Regions from separate parts of the Homo sapiens genome. Here region 1 is linked to region 2. The links are contacts of gene promoters, found by promoter capture Hi-C in blood cells and fetal thymus (Javierre and others, 2016). All regions are on one chromosome and are shown on one strand. Each heading gives the region's core, a stretch centred on a gene start or on the middle of the fragment in contact. The rest is flanking DNA. Distances are from core to core; before and after follow the strand shown. Region 1 has its middle 20 kb from the start of DCD. Region 2 holds the start of TESPA1 (thymocyte expressed, positive selection associated 1).

The links. Contacts are between HindIII fragments. The CHiCAGO score rates a contact against its expected background, and 5 or more counts as called.
Region 1: a fragment that was not itself captured here is called in contact with the fragment with the promoter of TESPA1 in region 2 in 1 of 17 cell types (M0 macrophages); the score reaches 5.4 in M0 macrophages.

What each region holds. Positions count from the first base shown.
Region 1 is chr12:54,664,827-54,672,084 of GRCh38, reverse strand. No RefSeq gene overlaps it. Among named protein-coding and RNA genes, the nearest start is that of DCD, 20 kb to the right of the region's middle. The HindIII fragment of the contact is 2,450 bases long and covers 3,697-6,146 here.
Region 2 is chr12:54,979,407-54,986,887 of GRCh38, reverse strand. It overlaps TESPA1 (thymocyte expressed, positive selection associated 1), which reads left to right and starts at 2,126. Exons shown (of 11, transcript NM_001136030.3): 1 at 2,126-2,303. LOC107984515 (a long non-coding RNA gene) reads right to left here and starts at 2,037. Exons shown (of 2, transcript XR_001749161.2): 1 at 1,923-2,037. The HindIII fragment of the contact is 6,023 bases long and covers 1,685-7,481 here.

The DNA of each region.
Region 1 (7,258 bases), core at 3,672-6,171, 320 kb after region 2:
AGAAGAAGAAAGAAAAGTTAAGTCTAGTTGTATTCCAAATGTGTGAAAGTAGTTCTCACTACAAGACCAGACTATGGCAGAAATTCAAAGGGAAAGTCTACCAAAATGTGTCAGTTTATTTTTATGTAGCCATTAATAATAATAATACTTCATTAAAATATAAAAATCCAGGTCACATGCTTACCCAGACCAGACACTTGGGGAGCAGGGGGAACAGCCCTAAACTGGGACTGTCCCAGACAAAACAGGACATATGGCCACCCTACCCTACTCAATATCCATGTTAAGTATTTTATACTGCCTGCTTTCACCACGTGAAATATAAAATTTTACAAGTTCCCCAACTCATAAACATACTATTCAAGTAGGGAGTATTTGTTAAGAATATATCCAAAGTGAGTAAGCTGCCCAAGCAGGATTGCATTAGCAGAGCTCAAATATTAGTCCTCCGTTTCACTGATTAACCTTCTCCACTGAGTTATACTATTATACTGGTCTCTAGGGGAAGAAGCTCCCTCTTCACTCATTTTGAAGGAGGGGAAATGCTTGGTTGATTGGTCAGATTCTAGACCATCATTAGGCCATGTTTTCTAGTTGAGGACCAGGGCAGAATAAATGTGCCTGTGTACATGAAAACCTCTCTATGACTCATTTTCCTTTGACACCGATGGTGTGAATTTCATCTTTCTTGAGTGGCAAGTTCCAAGATTTAATCTTAACAAATGGCACAATTTAGGACTCTAAACCACACAAAATGTATTTCCCATGCAGTCCAATTAAGCTTCCTAAAGTTCTATACTATGCTTTAGGACCAAAGATTCAGACAAAGATTTTAATCAATCCAACAAAAAAACATATTTAATGCTTCTTATGCCGGACATGTTCCAGATGCTAGGAAATCAACACTGAACAAGACAATCTTGGTCTTGTTGGAGGAAACAAGAGTGAGAAAGGTCAGAAAAATAAATTTCTTAGTACATCTTAGAATAATAAGTTCTACAATAGTCTATTAGAGGGTGCAATGAAGCTATTAGAACTAAGCCTAATCAAAACTTTCAGGATAGAAGATTCCCAGAGAAAGTGATATAAAATGAAAAATTACTCAAATATGAGTATTGGAGGAGAAAGGGAAGATAATGTTTCAGAAAGAAGGATCAGCAGGTGCAAAATCCCAGAGATAAGTGCAAACAACGTGTGCTCAAGGAACTCAAAGAAAAATGCATAGCTAGGACATAAACTAAGAGGTGAAATGTGGAAGAGATGGTAGGAAGAGGCCAGATCATGAAAGACCTCAAAAGCCTTGTTTAACTGATATTTTTTAAAGGTCCAGGAGAAATTAAAGTGCAAGGAAGAGTAGCGATAATCAACAGAGCAATATTCCTGAGAAGGCAGGAGGAGACAGGAGTCAGATCTTAGATGAAGGGTTAAGTTTTAGGCAAGAGAAAGAAAAACTCTCACATAGTTACTGTAAAAAAGAAAGAAAAGGTGGACACAAGTACATGTAAGGTTACAAATATATTGGTAGGAAATAAAGGGAATTTGTACCAAAACACTTGTATTTTCTCTGTGAAGCTGATGAAGTCACTAGGTGTGTGTGAAGGATGTAGTGGGATCCTAGTTGAGGTTACAAACCAGAAGTTTATAATGTATAATCTTTATGGTTTTATATCCTTTTTTTCCTACAAGTGCTCAATAGCCCTGGAATAGGACAGAGAGAGTAGAGAGCTAGATTTATCAAGACTCAGAATTTGCCAAACTTTGTAAAAATGAGGTCAGGAAGTGACACAGATTGGCAAAAAACTTCTCTAAGTGGAAGACCATGTAATTTAACCTGGAAAGGAAAGAACGTGAAGACTGGAGTAGGCATACAGAAAAAGAGAAAATAAAATGGTCAGGGAACTGAAGTTTGAAAAATAAATATAGAAGAAGTATCAGAATGAAAGAGTTGGAAGGATAGGTGATATGTGGTGAGGATGTGGGTGTTTTCAGAATTGGAGTAACTCTAAGAAATGACCACGGCCACAGATTGACCATGGGAGTTGGGGTGAAAGTTATGATAAGGTCAATTTCTACTTTCACCCGAACTTCCATGGTTCCCTAGAACCCAGACTTCTGGGTAAGTCATGGTCATGATCCATGAAGTTGTCCAGCAGCTTAAAACAAAAAAGAAGACCACCACTCAGGAGTAAGTCTTCCATGAAGGAAAGGAGTCGCTGGGAGCCCAGCAGGTGAAACAATGAGGAGGGGTAGACAGATGACCCAAGACTCCTCCGAGGAGGAGGTATTAGTGATATGACTCAATGGACTCTGCAGTGGAGTCTAGGATGATCCACATGTCTGTGAATTCCACTGCCCAACCTAAGAAGCATGGCTGTGGGAATGAGTGGACTGCACTTCAGAAGAGACTCAGGGAGAACCATGTTTTCCTATTGGGATTGCATAATTTAATTTAGTTAATTTCTGCTTTTACATCTATTAATGCCCTCTTCTATTTTTCACATTGTTTGATTAGACATTTTCTAGTTTCTAAACTTGAATTTACTTTTGCTACATGTTCATTTCTCATAAAATACTAAACACCAGGGATCCTCTAAGAACAGTTGGCTGCAAAGTAAAGGTGCGCAGCGTTCACATATCCATTTCCAAAACAATCATCACTTAAGGCTCTGTTTTCTTTTTTTTATTATTATTATTATACTTTAAGTTTCAGGGTACATGTGCACAATGTGCAGGTTAGTTACGTATGTATACATGTGCCATGCTGGTGTGCTGCACCCATTAACTCGTCATTTAGCATTAGGTATATCTCCTAATGCTATCCCTTTCCCCTCCCCCCACCCCACAACTGTTTTCCTTTTAACCTAAGAAAGATTGTTGTTTTTCCCCAGGGACTCTTTTTTTAATTATTATGATTTGCCTTTCATTTTTAATTTCTAACTTGTATTATATGGTGGTAAGAAAAAGTGGCCTTTACAATTTCTTCTTTGGAGAATGGATTGAGGTATTCTTTGATACCTAGTATTTAATCGATTTTGTAAAACCACACAGGTATTGAAAAAATGTTTATTCTTTTCATTGGCTATAACATTCAAGCAAGTTTGTCAATTGTGTTATTCAAATGTTCTGTATACAAAATTATATTCTGTCCACATAAACTGTCACCTTCCGAGACTTAACAGATCGATGTCTCCTACAGAGAGTGTGGCTCTGTCAGGTAGTCCTCATAGTCATCACAGTTTTTGCTTTGTTTCAATGCAAGTGTGATGCATAAAAGTTTGTAACTATTACATCTTCTCAGTGAATTTTACCTTTTTTAAACCTATGCGATTTAAAACAGCACTTCATGTTCTCTTTAATTATTTTGGCCTTGCGTTCTATTTTGCCAGATAATGTTGCTATTCCATTTACCTAACATTTCTCTCTCCATCTCTTTATATTCAACATTTGTGTGTCACTTTATTTCTGGTGTGTCTATTATAAAAGAAATCTATGACTGCAGTTCACCTTCTAACCCTGCCATTTATTTATTCTTTTCTTGTTCTTTCTTTCCTTCTGAATCTTTGCTGGATTGATCAAGTTCTTTGTTGTTGTTGCTCTTTTCTACTCTGCCACGTTAAAAGATTTATAAATCAGTTAGAATTCAGTTCAGCTGCATGGAATAGAAACTCCAAAATAAGCAGCGTAAAGACATAAGCTTCTCCCCAGCCCCTAAGTAAAAGAAGACTAGAGAAAGGCAGCCTAGGACTCCTGGTAGGAGGCCCCGCTGTCCTCAGGAATCCAGCCACCTCTTTTCTTTCTGCCCTATCATTCTCAAGGACCTAAGGACACAACTTCTAGTCTCAAGGCCATATGGCAGTTGTGGTGGCTCCAGCCAACCTGTCCAATTTCCAAACAGCGGGAAGAAAGAAGGGAAATGGGCACAAAAACACGTGTCTGCTGAGTCAGCTCCTTTTAAGAAATCTTTGCTCATATTTCACACAGTATTTCCATTTACATTCAATCAAGTGGCCACTACTAACCGCAAATGTGGCTAGGAATGTTATCTTTTAACTAGACACATTACCCCGATAACTAAAATTAGAATTCTATTACTTAGAAAGAAAGCAAGTATGGATACTGAGTAGGCCAGTATCATCACCACCACCATCTACATACCATACCCATTCTATATTATTTTTAAGTTTCTAACAAACCTATTTAAATCAATGCTTGTATCAGTATCAGCAACTAATAACCAGACTTTACCTTCCTCAGAAAATGAGACCTGTATCATGTATAATTTATCCCTCTTTCCCTATCTTGTAAGACTTTAACAGTATCTATAATTTTATTTCAGATATGGTTAATTTTTGTTATTAATATAACATATAACTGTATTATTTTATATATTATTTTATTTATAATCATATATATAATTATACAAATAATATAATTATTTTATTATATAATAGATGTATTTCTATTTTAGGATTTCTTAGCAATGGTATTAAACACAATGATAATAACAAGAATTTGTTAGACTTAACTATATATTCTGTTAGTTTCTCTGTTTACCACTCTTTCTTGTATATCCTATTCGCCTTCCTTGAAATTGTATTGTCTGTAGACTAGATTTTCCAAAAAGGAGCATGAGTGATATATTTTCATAGTTCTTTATTTTGGCCTCATATTTGACTGGCTATGTAACTCTAGCTCTAACTTGGCAGGCCCTGATCCATTGTCCATTAATTTTCTGGAGCAGACCAGAAGCCTGGTGCTAATCTTATTTGCGTTCCTTTGCAAGTTACCTTTTTTCTCTGAAAATTAGTAAGCCTTTTTAAACCTCTGAAATCCAGAAATTTCACCCGCATGAATTTAGGTGTGGGTGCCTTTCAGTAGTCCTACCTAGCACTTAGTGTATGCTTTAGATCTAAAGTCTGGAGGATATCTTGCTATCAGGGAAACTTCTTCTATTATTTCTTCGACCCTGTCTCTCCCATCTGTTTTATTCTCTTTTACTTCTCTTAAGTGAGTATTTGGTCCCCTGGGCATATCCTCCATATCTTTTAATGTCAGTCCCATAATTTCTATTGTCTTTCTGCCTTCACATTACAAAAAAAAAAACACCTTAATTTCTAAATCACTAATTTATTCTGCGACCACATACTTTCAGTTACTCAGCCCTTCTATTAATTGCTTTCTTCTTATAATCATCTTTTAAAATCATAAGTCTTTCTTCTTTAGTGATTGGCTTTTCTTCATGGAACTCTACCTTAGCTTTATTGATTTAATATCCACTTAATTTTTTTAAGCAATTAGCATTTTATCTGAAATGAAAAGTTTTGTTTCATTGTTGATCAGTTATTGTGTTTATTCATCTTGGTTCTTCTTTTCTTTTTCTTTTTTTATTTTTATTTTTCCTAACCACTAGGCTACAAGGGAGGTTCTTCTTTTTCAATATCATTCATTTTCCTTCAATATTTAGTAATTCTTTGTTTTAAATGCAGTACCTTTGGTTCTTCCTCTCTTGGCACTTTGCAATGCTATAGGCATCTGGCATAGGTTTCTATATGTCTGTTTCCATGATGAGTCTCTCTCTTTCTCTCTTTCTCTCCCTTTTTCTCTCATCTTCTCTCATGGAAGGTGCAAGGGGTGAATACGATGAGGATGCTGACAGAAAGGTTTCCCAATAAGGTTGGATGGTGGATGGTGAATGTATGGAAGTGGAGCCAATAGGCAATCCGGTGTCCCGTTGTAAAGAACATTCCTCCTTTCTTTTCCTTTCTTCCTCTGTGACCATCTGAAGGCCCAGAGTTACCTCAGGTCCTGCTCGACTCCTTCCTCCATTTGCTCACTCCAGGGCACATCCTTCAACCAGTCACTCTGTAAACACAAAAAGGGGAGGGAGGGAGACTGGCAAATGACTGGAGACTGGCAAATAAGCAAATGACAGAATGGAATGGAACAGAAATGGCTGTTCCAGGAAAAGTCATTTGCTTATTTACCTTTATGATTATTATCCCCTGGGCCAGTTTCACCTTGGCCTTATTGATCCCTGGCTTCAACTTTCTCCAGGGTTCCTTGGGGAAGAGCAGGTCTCATCTCTGCAGTAGTTCTCTCCTGCTTTTCTTTTGCTTAAGTTTCTCCATCATCTGATTCCAGAAGCTTTGTTTCTCTTTTAGCTTTTTAATTAGAAAAATGATCACTGTTCATTTATTCACCAAATATTTATTGAGGGTCATATCTATAGAAGTGAAACTTTCTTTTAAACACAGTTACCAAAAGATAGTTCTGGGCCACCATAGGCCTCCTCCCACGGGAGGCTCCTAGCATGGAGGCAAACAGCAGAACACGTGCTCCCCCAGACAGCCTGGGTCCCAAAGGAAGGAAGAGAATAAGGCTCTCTGCTGGCCACATCTGCCTCGTCTTTTCTTCCAAACTCCACAATTATTTTAAGTCACTCTTAACTAGAGGTAAAGAGAGACCTCAACTGTTGTGCCTCAAGTTTCCTCAACATGGGAACATTTGGAATGAAGGAAAGCTGTTCCCTCTTCTAACAATATGCAACAAACAAAAGGTTAGCAATCAAAGTACTTAAGGAGCTACGTCAGAGAGAGAAAGTTTTTTCTAAATAGCAAAAAAAGCCAAAGGACATAAATGATTCACAGGAGAGAAAATACAAAAGACTACTAATCCTGTCAAAATCACCGGTAAGCAGAGAAATGCAAATTAAAGTATTAACCACAAAATATTATCTTTTGCCCAACAAGTTGTCCAAAATTTAAAATATTGACAGTATCTAGTGGTGATCAGCATATGGGAAACAGGCACTTTCACACACTATTGGTTAAGATATAACTGGAACAACTTCAAGGAAGACAGTGTCTGTTGTTGCCTGACTTTTTAATGACTGCCATTCTAACTGGTGTGAGATGGTATCTCATTGTGGTTTTGATTTGCATTTCTCTGATGGCCAGTGATGATGAGCATTTTTTCATGTGTTTTTTGGCTGCATAAATGTCTTCTTTTGAGAAGTGTCTGTTCATATCCTTCGACCACTTTTTGATGGGGTTGTTTGTTTTTTTCTTGTAAATTTGTTTGAGTTCATTGTAGATCCTGGATATTACCCCTTTGTCAGATGAGTAGGTTGCAAAAATTTTCTCCCATTCTGTAGGTTGCCTGTTCACTCTGATGGTAGTTTCTTTTGCTGTGCAGAAGCTCTTTAGTTTAATTAGATCCCATTTGTCAATTTTGGCTTTTGTTGCCATTGCTTTGGGGA
Region 2 (7,481 bases), core at 877-3,376:
ACTAACACAGGAACAGAAAACCAAATACCGCATGTTCTCACCTATAAGTGGGAGCTAAATGATGAGAACACATGGACACATAGAGGGAAACAACACACACTGGGGCCTATGGGAGGGTAGAGGGTGGAAGGAGGGAGAGGATCAAAACAAATACCTATTGGGTACTAGGCTTAATACCTGGGTGATGAAATAATCTGTACAACAAACCCCTATGACAGGAGTTTACCTATGTAACAAACTTGCACATGTACCACTGAACTTAAAATAAAAGTTAAAAGAAACTATTATATTTCAAGAGTCTTAAAAATAGCTGCAATTTCTTGAGCATTTGCTGTAAGGTAGGCGCTGGACTGAATACTCTGTATTCCTTTATTCTTATAGCTCTACAACCACTCCTGTAAGGTTATCCCCATTTAGCAGCTAACAAACTGAGACCTAGAGATGTTAACGTATCCAAGACTACAGAGCTACTTGATGCCAGAGCTTCACTCTAAAGCCTGCTCTCCTAACCATCAAACTATCAATGTTAACAAAATGTTGACATTTGGGCCAGGACAATTATTCCTTATACTGAAGAGTCCCATCCCTTCAAAAGCACTTATCATCATTGGCCCTCAGGTACTAAATACCAGTATCAGCTTCCCATTTCTTTGAAAATTAAATCTCTCTCACATATTTCCAAACTCCCTACCGAAGTTATATTCTCCATTTCCCAAACATATTGGAAAACAACTGTTAAGGAAAACATTGAATTCTAGAAACTTAGGATTTAAAAGAGTTGTTAAGTTTCCATTAGTTCAGCTTTTATAGTTAATTTGTACGGAAAAGAATAGTAAATAAAGAGAATTAGGGCGTGTTGGATTTAGCATTTTACTTGTTGACTGTGAAGCTAATTCTCAGAGAAGCACATATTTAGCATCTACTATGTCCTGAGAAAATATGTTAGATATTTTCATGCCTACGTAAAAGGAATAGCGTGGGAGAAGGGTTGAGTGAGAAACAGAGAGAATTGTTATTTTCCTCACATTATACTTGAAGAAAATAATGTTTTGAGAACTTAATTTGCCAAGCAAGAATTTTATTTAGGATTATTTCTACCATATTATAGCTATACTATGGATACTCAATGGAGTTGTCCCATTGATGATTGGAAATGGAATTTAGAAACATGGTAAAAAAAAAATCTAACTATACCTATAGCCAAAAAATCAGAAAGAAGGTAATGAACATGTGAAAATCAGTCACAATTAACACATTAGAGGAGTGCCTTGTAGAATAAATATTGTGATATACATTCATAAATAAATGATTTAAAGAAGGAAACAGTAGAATCAGGAGAGAGACAGAAAGAAGATATCCAAAATGCAGCAGCATCCTACGGAGAAGAGTGTTCAGAGATACTGGAGAAGCGAGGAGGGATAGTTAGCAGTGCTGGATGCTCCCGGTGGGTGAAAGTGATTGAGGCCTGGGAGAAACCTTTTAGAGTTCAACAAGCCTTTTCCAAACTGAAAACCAATAAACTGAAGACATCTTCAGGGTGTAACCGATTTTAAAAGTTCAGCTTTGAAAACGTTGGGGAAAGCAGTCATTTACTACAAAAACAAAAACTTTGAAGTGGTTTGAACATAAAACAAAGTTAAGAAACTAACAGAAAAAAAAAGTAGTCAGTATTCAAAAACAAGCTTCGGGGGAATTTACCAGAGTATGAAAGTTATCAACACAGAGCGACTGGCTCAGAGCCCTCTCAAGTGTGTGATACGACTGGAAACTTCTTCTCTGAGATAAACGCCAGATCATTTATGAGAGAGAGCTTTCCCATTTTCAGACAGCTCTCCTGAGGACAGAAGGATTTATCTGCAGCAGTGGAATTCTAGTTATATGGTAGGAAGACTCCTGCACACACCTCTTTAAATGGACTGTACCTTTGCCTTAATAGGAAAAGATCTCCTGTTTTTCTGGAAAGACAGAGGCAGCTCTGGGGCAGGAAGGTCTTCCTAGTTGTGAGCACCGTGTCTACGGATGGTTTGTCCTTCGCTCAGTCTCCTGAGCCGGAGCAAAGGATGTGGCTGGGCCAGGAGGCGGGGACTGCATCTACATGTGTGGATGTGTGTGTGTGTGGTGTGTTCTCATTTCCGCTTCCCCTTTTGAGCAGGCAACAGCAGTTGAATGAGTTCAGGGAGAAAGGCATAATCTACAACATGATACTTTCTCACTTGCTTCACCTCTGTGCCCACACCTGTGAAGGCCTCGGCCCAGCTTCGACAACTGCTTTGCCTCAAACTCAGCTTTCTACCAGCAGACAGGTAAGCACAGCCTTTATCTCAGTTTCAAGGCTGTACTGATTTAGGGTGATGCTAGGAGAAAGAAGGAAACATGTCAGAGAAAAATCAGGCTGTCAAGTCAAGGGAAAATCAAGAGAAAATCTCCCACCACTCTTACTTCAACCTTAAAAGCATCCATCATTATGCCTAGGAGAACGATGCTGGGTGCCCTTTTGCTTTCGTTTGTTTGTTTTCTCTTTATTATCAGAGAGGTAATCTTTCTAGATTCTCAAAACTTGGGTCTCTTTGATGACTTGAATAACATTTTAGGAATTTTTTTTCACCTTTCTCACCTGCAAAGTTCTTCTCTGTGTCTTGCTGAACTCATTGTTGCTGCAATTTCCATCTGATTATAACATCGAAAAGTTCTCAAGGAAGAAGTTTCCCGGTTTCATTTCAGGCCCTACTCTAGTGTCCATAGCTCCAACCATTGAGAGTACCTGGCTGAAATCAACTTTGCTTTCTGTGGGTATGACCTCTTTCTTCAGAAGCTGTAGAAGAAACTTGTTGAGATAAACTGCAGCAAGATATATTGAGGTCAGCTACGAGGGAGGATGTACACACTTGAGTGAGGTAAGGTCAAATTCACCGGGAGGCTCAAGATAGATGGATAGCCACCATCAGGACCAGATTTCAGGGTTCACATCTCAAAGATAGATAGATGGATGTGTTGCCTTCTCAGTGACCTACATAATATTGGGGGCTTCATGCTCCTCCAACACCCCTTGCCCCAGTGGTAGCAGGCAGAGCATATCACCACCTACATGAGTTTTGGGGTAGATGGAGGAGTGGAAAGATCCTCCACCCTGGGGTTTTCCCATGCCCCTTCTGTGCCACTAAGCTCACCAGTGGGTGGAAGAAAAAGGGTGGGTCCCCAGGGCAGGGCAAGGACAAGAAAGGAGAGTTCCACAGAAGTGATTTGACAAGACTGTGAGCATTTACAGGAGATATCCAGGGAAGTACTAGTGACTCTGTATACCACAAATGGTCCTGAGTAGAGAGGTAAGGAGACTTTCTAGATGGTGCAGGGCAGTACCTAGGATGGGAGGTTGGAGGTAGGAACCTTCAACTTGTGTGTCCAAGTATCAGACTCAATAGTTGTTCAGCTGAGTGATTAGAGATAAAGATCTCACAATATTGTCTTGCAGCATGAAGTGTTAGTAGGAAGAAGGGAAGTCAGGTTTATTGTCTGTCTCTACTTGGACTATTATCAGAAATAACAAGCTGAAGATATAGCAGAAGGGATAGAAAGCAATTTAACATCTGAGTTATTCGCATGCACCCCAGGGTGTTTAGAAACCATTTACAACCACGCTACCAACATGTTCTCATAACTCTTGGGTTTTTTGAAAATTAAGATGGAACCCTGCGATTCAGCATTATGTAGTGAACATGAAGCCCCAACCGTCATTTTCAGTTCAATGTTTGATTTGGATTCTAGTATGGAGGTCTCGTCTCAGCCAATGCTGTGACTTACAAGATTCCTTCTGGGCTACAGTAAGGGGAAAAGATCACACGTTTATTTCCACCTGCAAACTGACAACTGTTCTCTTTTCCACCTAAGGCACAAGACCAAAGTGGATATTCCAGTACCCACAGTACTGTGTGCCTTACAACACCCAGGCCTGATGCAGAATGGCCTAAACACAGATTTCAGATTGAGAAAAGAGTTCAGTCAAATAAGTAGAGGGACGAGGAGAAGAGAGTGTGTAGATATTGAAAAAGAAAAGCAGGAAAGAAGAAAAATGAATATATGCAGGACAGAGCTTATTACCAAGGAAATGAAACTGAAGAATTAAAGATACGAATTCACAGAGCTAACACAATGGTTGAGAAATCTGCTCATTCTCCCTACTTTCTCTTGATGAAGCCATCTATAAATCAGCTCAGATAAACTGCTGTTTCTTATTCTTGATGTCTTTATTGCCCATTCAAATGAAGATATTTGATGTCTCCCTACATTGAGAACAAGCGATTAATTTTTTTTCCAAATCCACAACTTTAATATTTCCTGTAGCAATTATACAAGCCTTTCTTAAAATTCATATCCTAAAAGTGGAAGTAAGGAAGAAAGGGAAGGAGAGGAAAAAGGTCTTAGATGGTCTTCTTTCAGTATTTATTCAGCTACGCTTATTTGTGGGAGAAAGAGTATGAAAAGGGAGGGGAATAGGAGTTCTATTGACTAATGGGCATTTTTTCTTTCTGTTATTTACCAAGTAACATCTCTCCTTTTCCCCGAACAGATTGAACTGCTCCTTAGACAATAGAAGTCTCAGAATGCTCAAATATTATACTCAGGGAAATTCTTGTTCTGATGATCTTCCAACCTGAGTGACATGGAAGAGGGTTAGGAGCTAGAAGACAGTTCTATGAAGGAATGTGAGAATTTGTTGCAGATTGGGGTATGTCAAATGGGGGACAATCCACCTGGGTTGAGGTGGAGTTTGTCCAGTTCATGAACAGAGAAATGTTAGCTACTCTGGGATTTCCCGCAGCTCTGCGATGGTAATGATGTATATCTTGGCTGTGGATGCAGAAGGTCTTATGGGCCACATCATGGAAACCCCATTTCCTTCTTCTCTCCTCCCACACTGGTTCTCACTCTCAGTCTCAACTCACAGGCACTGCTTGGGGCATAGGTACAAAACAGACAGAAGAGAAGAGAGGTCTGTCTCATACATGTCCCCTAGAGCACTAAAGGCAAACCTGGGACTGGGCCTTGGAAACCAAGTGTGGCAGGAGGAAGGCTGTATGATATAAAGGAAGAAAGCATGCATCTGGAACTCAGAACTTGTGAGTTTGGTTCCCATTTAAAACCACTAATATTCTTTGTGACTCCAGGCAAGCCTGCTTCTCCCTCCCTCTCTCTCTCTCTTTCTCCCTCCTTTCTCTCTCTCTTCAGTTTCCTCAACTACAAAATGAGTGAACAGGATTAGGTAATCTCTCTGGTCCCTTTGGGAATTAGGTAAGAAAGAAAGACTTTTTTTTTTTAATATATTATACTTTAAGTTCTAGGGTACACGTGCACAATGTGCAGGTTTGTTACATATGTATACATGTGCCATGTTGGTGTGCTGCACCCGTTAACTCGTCAGTTACATTAGGTACATCTCCTAATGCTATCTCTCCCCCCTCCCCCCACCCTAGGACAGGCCCCAGGAAAGAAAGACTTTTCATTGCTTACTTTTTATCTCTGCTTAACACAGATTTAAAAAATCTTTTTCACCATCTTGATTTTATACTGTCAACTGTACCCTGCAATTCTCACCTTCTTCCTTCCTTCTTTCCTTCCTTATTCCTCAAGATGTTTCAACTTTAGTGAACATCTTAGACTGAGGGGAGATTCATAATCATAATCATATCTATCACTTATTAAGCACCACCTTTATACATCAGGGACTTAATATGTGTTACCTGATTACAACTGCCAATCACCCAACTAGTTTGGCACAGTATCTATTTTATGAAGAAAATTAGGTATAGACTAGGTGTGGTGGCTCACACCTATAATCCCAGCACTTTGGGAGGCCAAGGTGGGAGGATTGCTTGAGGCCAGGTGTTCAAGACCAGCCTGAGTAACACAGCAAGACAAAAGAAAAAGAAAAAGAAGAAACTTAGGTATAGAAGAAAAGATAGTGTTACCAAGGACAAATATGCAGAAAGCAGACAGAACTATGATTCCAAATTAGGCTTACTCTGATTCCAAGGCCCAAACTCTTTCTACAGTTTTCCTTTTCTTTAATTTCTAAATAACACTCTGAACTTTAAAGAAAAAGAAGCATTGGTCATCCTTACTGAGCCCCTTGAAAATTGCCCCATGGTGAAGTATCTGTAAGCAGAGCTGATATTTGTCAGGTGCAAACTGGTAGGCTAATAGTTGCTAAAATATTAAAATATGTCTACTAATGATAATTATCCACTTTCCCAAGCCCTCTGAGTGCCCATGACCAGCCCAGCTATCCCAGCTCTTTCCTCAAGACTCCCCAGACAGGCCCCAGAAATTCAAGGCCACATCAGCCATGTACCGGGCGGGGCCCCACCACAGGGCGGTGATGGTATCAGCTCTCATTGCTCTGTGGTGCCCCAAACCGTTATGAAATATTCTGAATGCCACAACAACCTGAAAGTAATGCGGAATTCCAGGCAGATTCTCTCCTCCCAACTAGAAGTTAGGTGGGCCCTTGCCAAAAAAACCACTCTGTAAGCCTGAGGAAGGCTAAACTGCTTCATAATCACCTAGCTGGAGTCAGAAAGGAAATTATTCTAATAACACAAACAAAGCAACACTTCCTGCACTAAGACTGTCACAGAACCAAATATAAATTACATTGTGTTTATGGTGCTTCTTCTCTACTAGACTATAAGATGGAGAGCTTACATAGATGCAAAATGGAGAATTTACTAAAATAACTTCTCCTTTTTTTTTAATCCCAAATTACATTGGATGGTGACATTGGGCCATTTTCTTATTCTAATGTCAGTGGAAAAACTATATAACATGGAGTCAGACCAACTTGAGTTTAAATCTCAGCACTACAGGGATGTGGCCTTGGACAAATAACGTATCTCTGTGAGGGTCAGGTAACCATAATCAGCTCTAAAGTGGTTGTCAGGATTAAGTTAAGCAGTTTACAGGAAAGTTTTATGGATAAATATGCAGTACTCTATACATTTCAGTTATTATGACTACCTACCTTTGACTTGCCCGTGTCAATGTGTAGTGAATCCCCACCTGCTTCCCTGGGAAAACAGAGACTAGAAATAGGCGATATTCTTCGAGTCATAATTATGACATACCTCTACAGGTTTTCTGCCGCTGCTACAGTTACTGCCTCTGATAATAATTTTTGTTGGAAGATACTCATTTCACAGCTCTTAACTCCCTCATCTTAAACCAGTGGAGGATATTTCTCCTGTCTAACCTCAATCCTATCTACTACAATTTCTGCTTTTAACTATAGCATCCTCAGAACAAGAATTATATCTTACTCCACTTGGCTGAACCCAGATTCCAGAACTCTTGAAAGATTGTGGAGAAGGATTTATGGAATGAACGTCTAGAGAAATGTAGAAAAGAGGAAAGAACAAAAGGCTGGAAATGGTAGCAGAGGGGGGACATGAGGGTTTGGGCGGATTCAGGCAAGAAGCAATAGTACCACT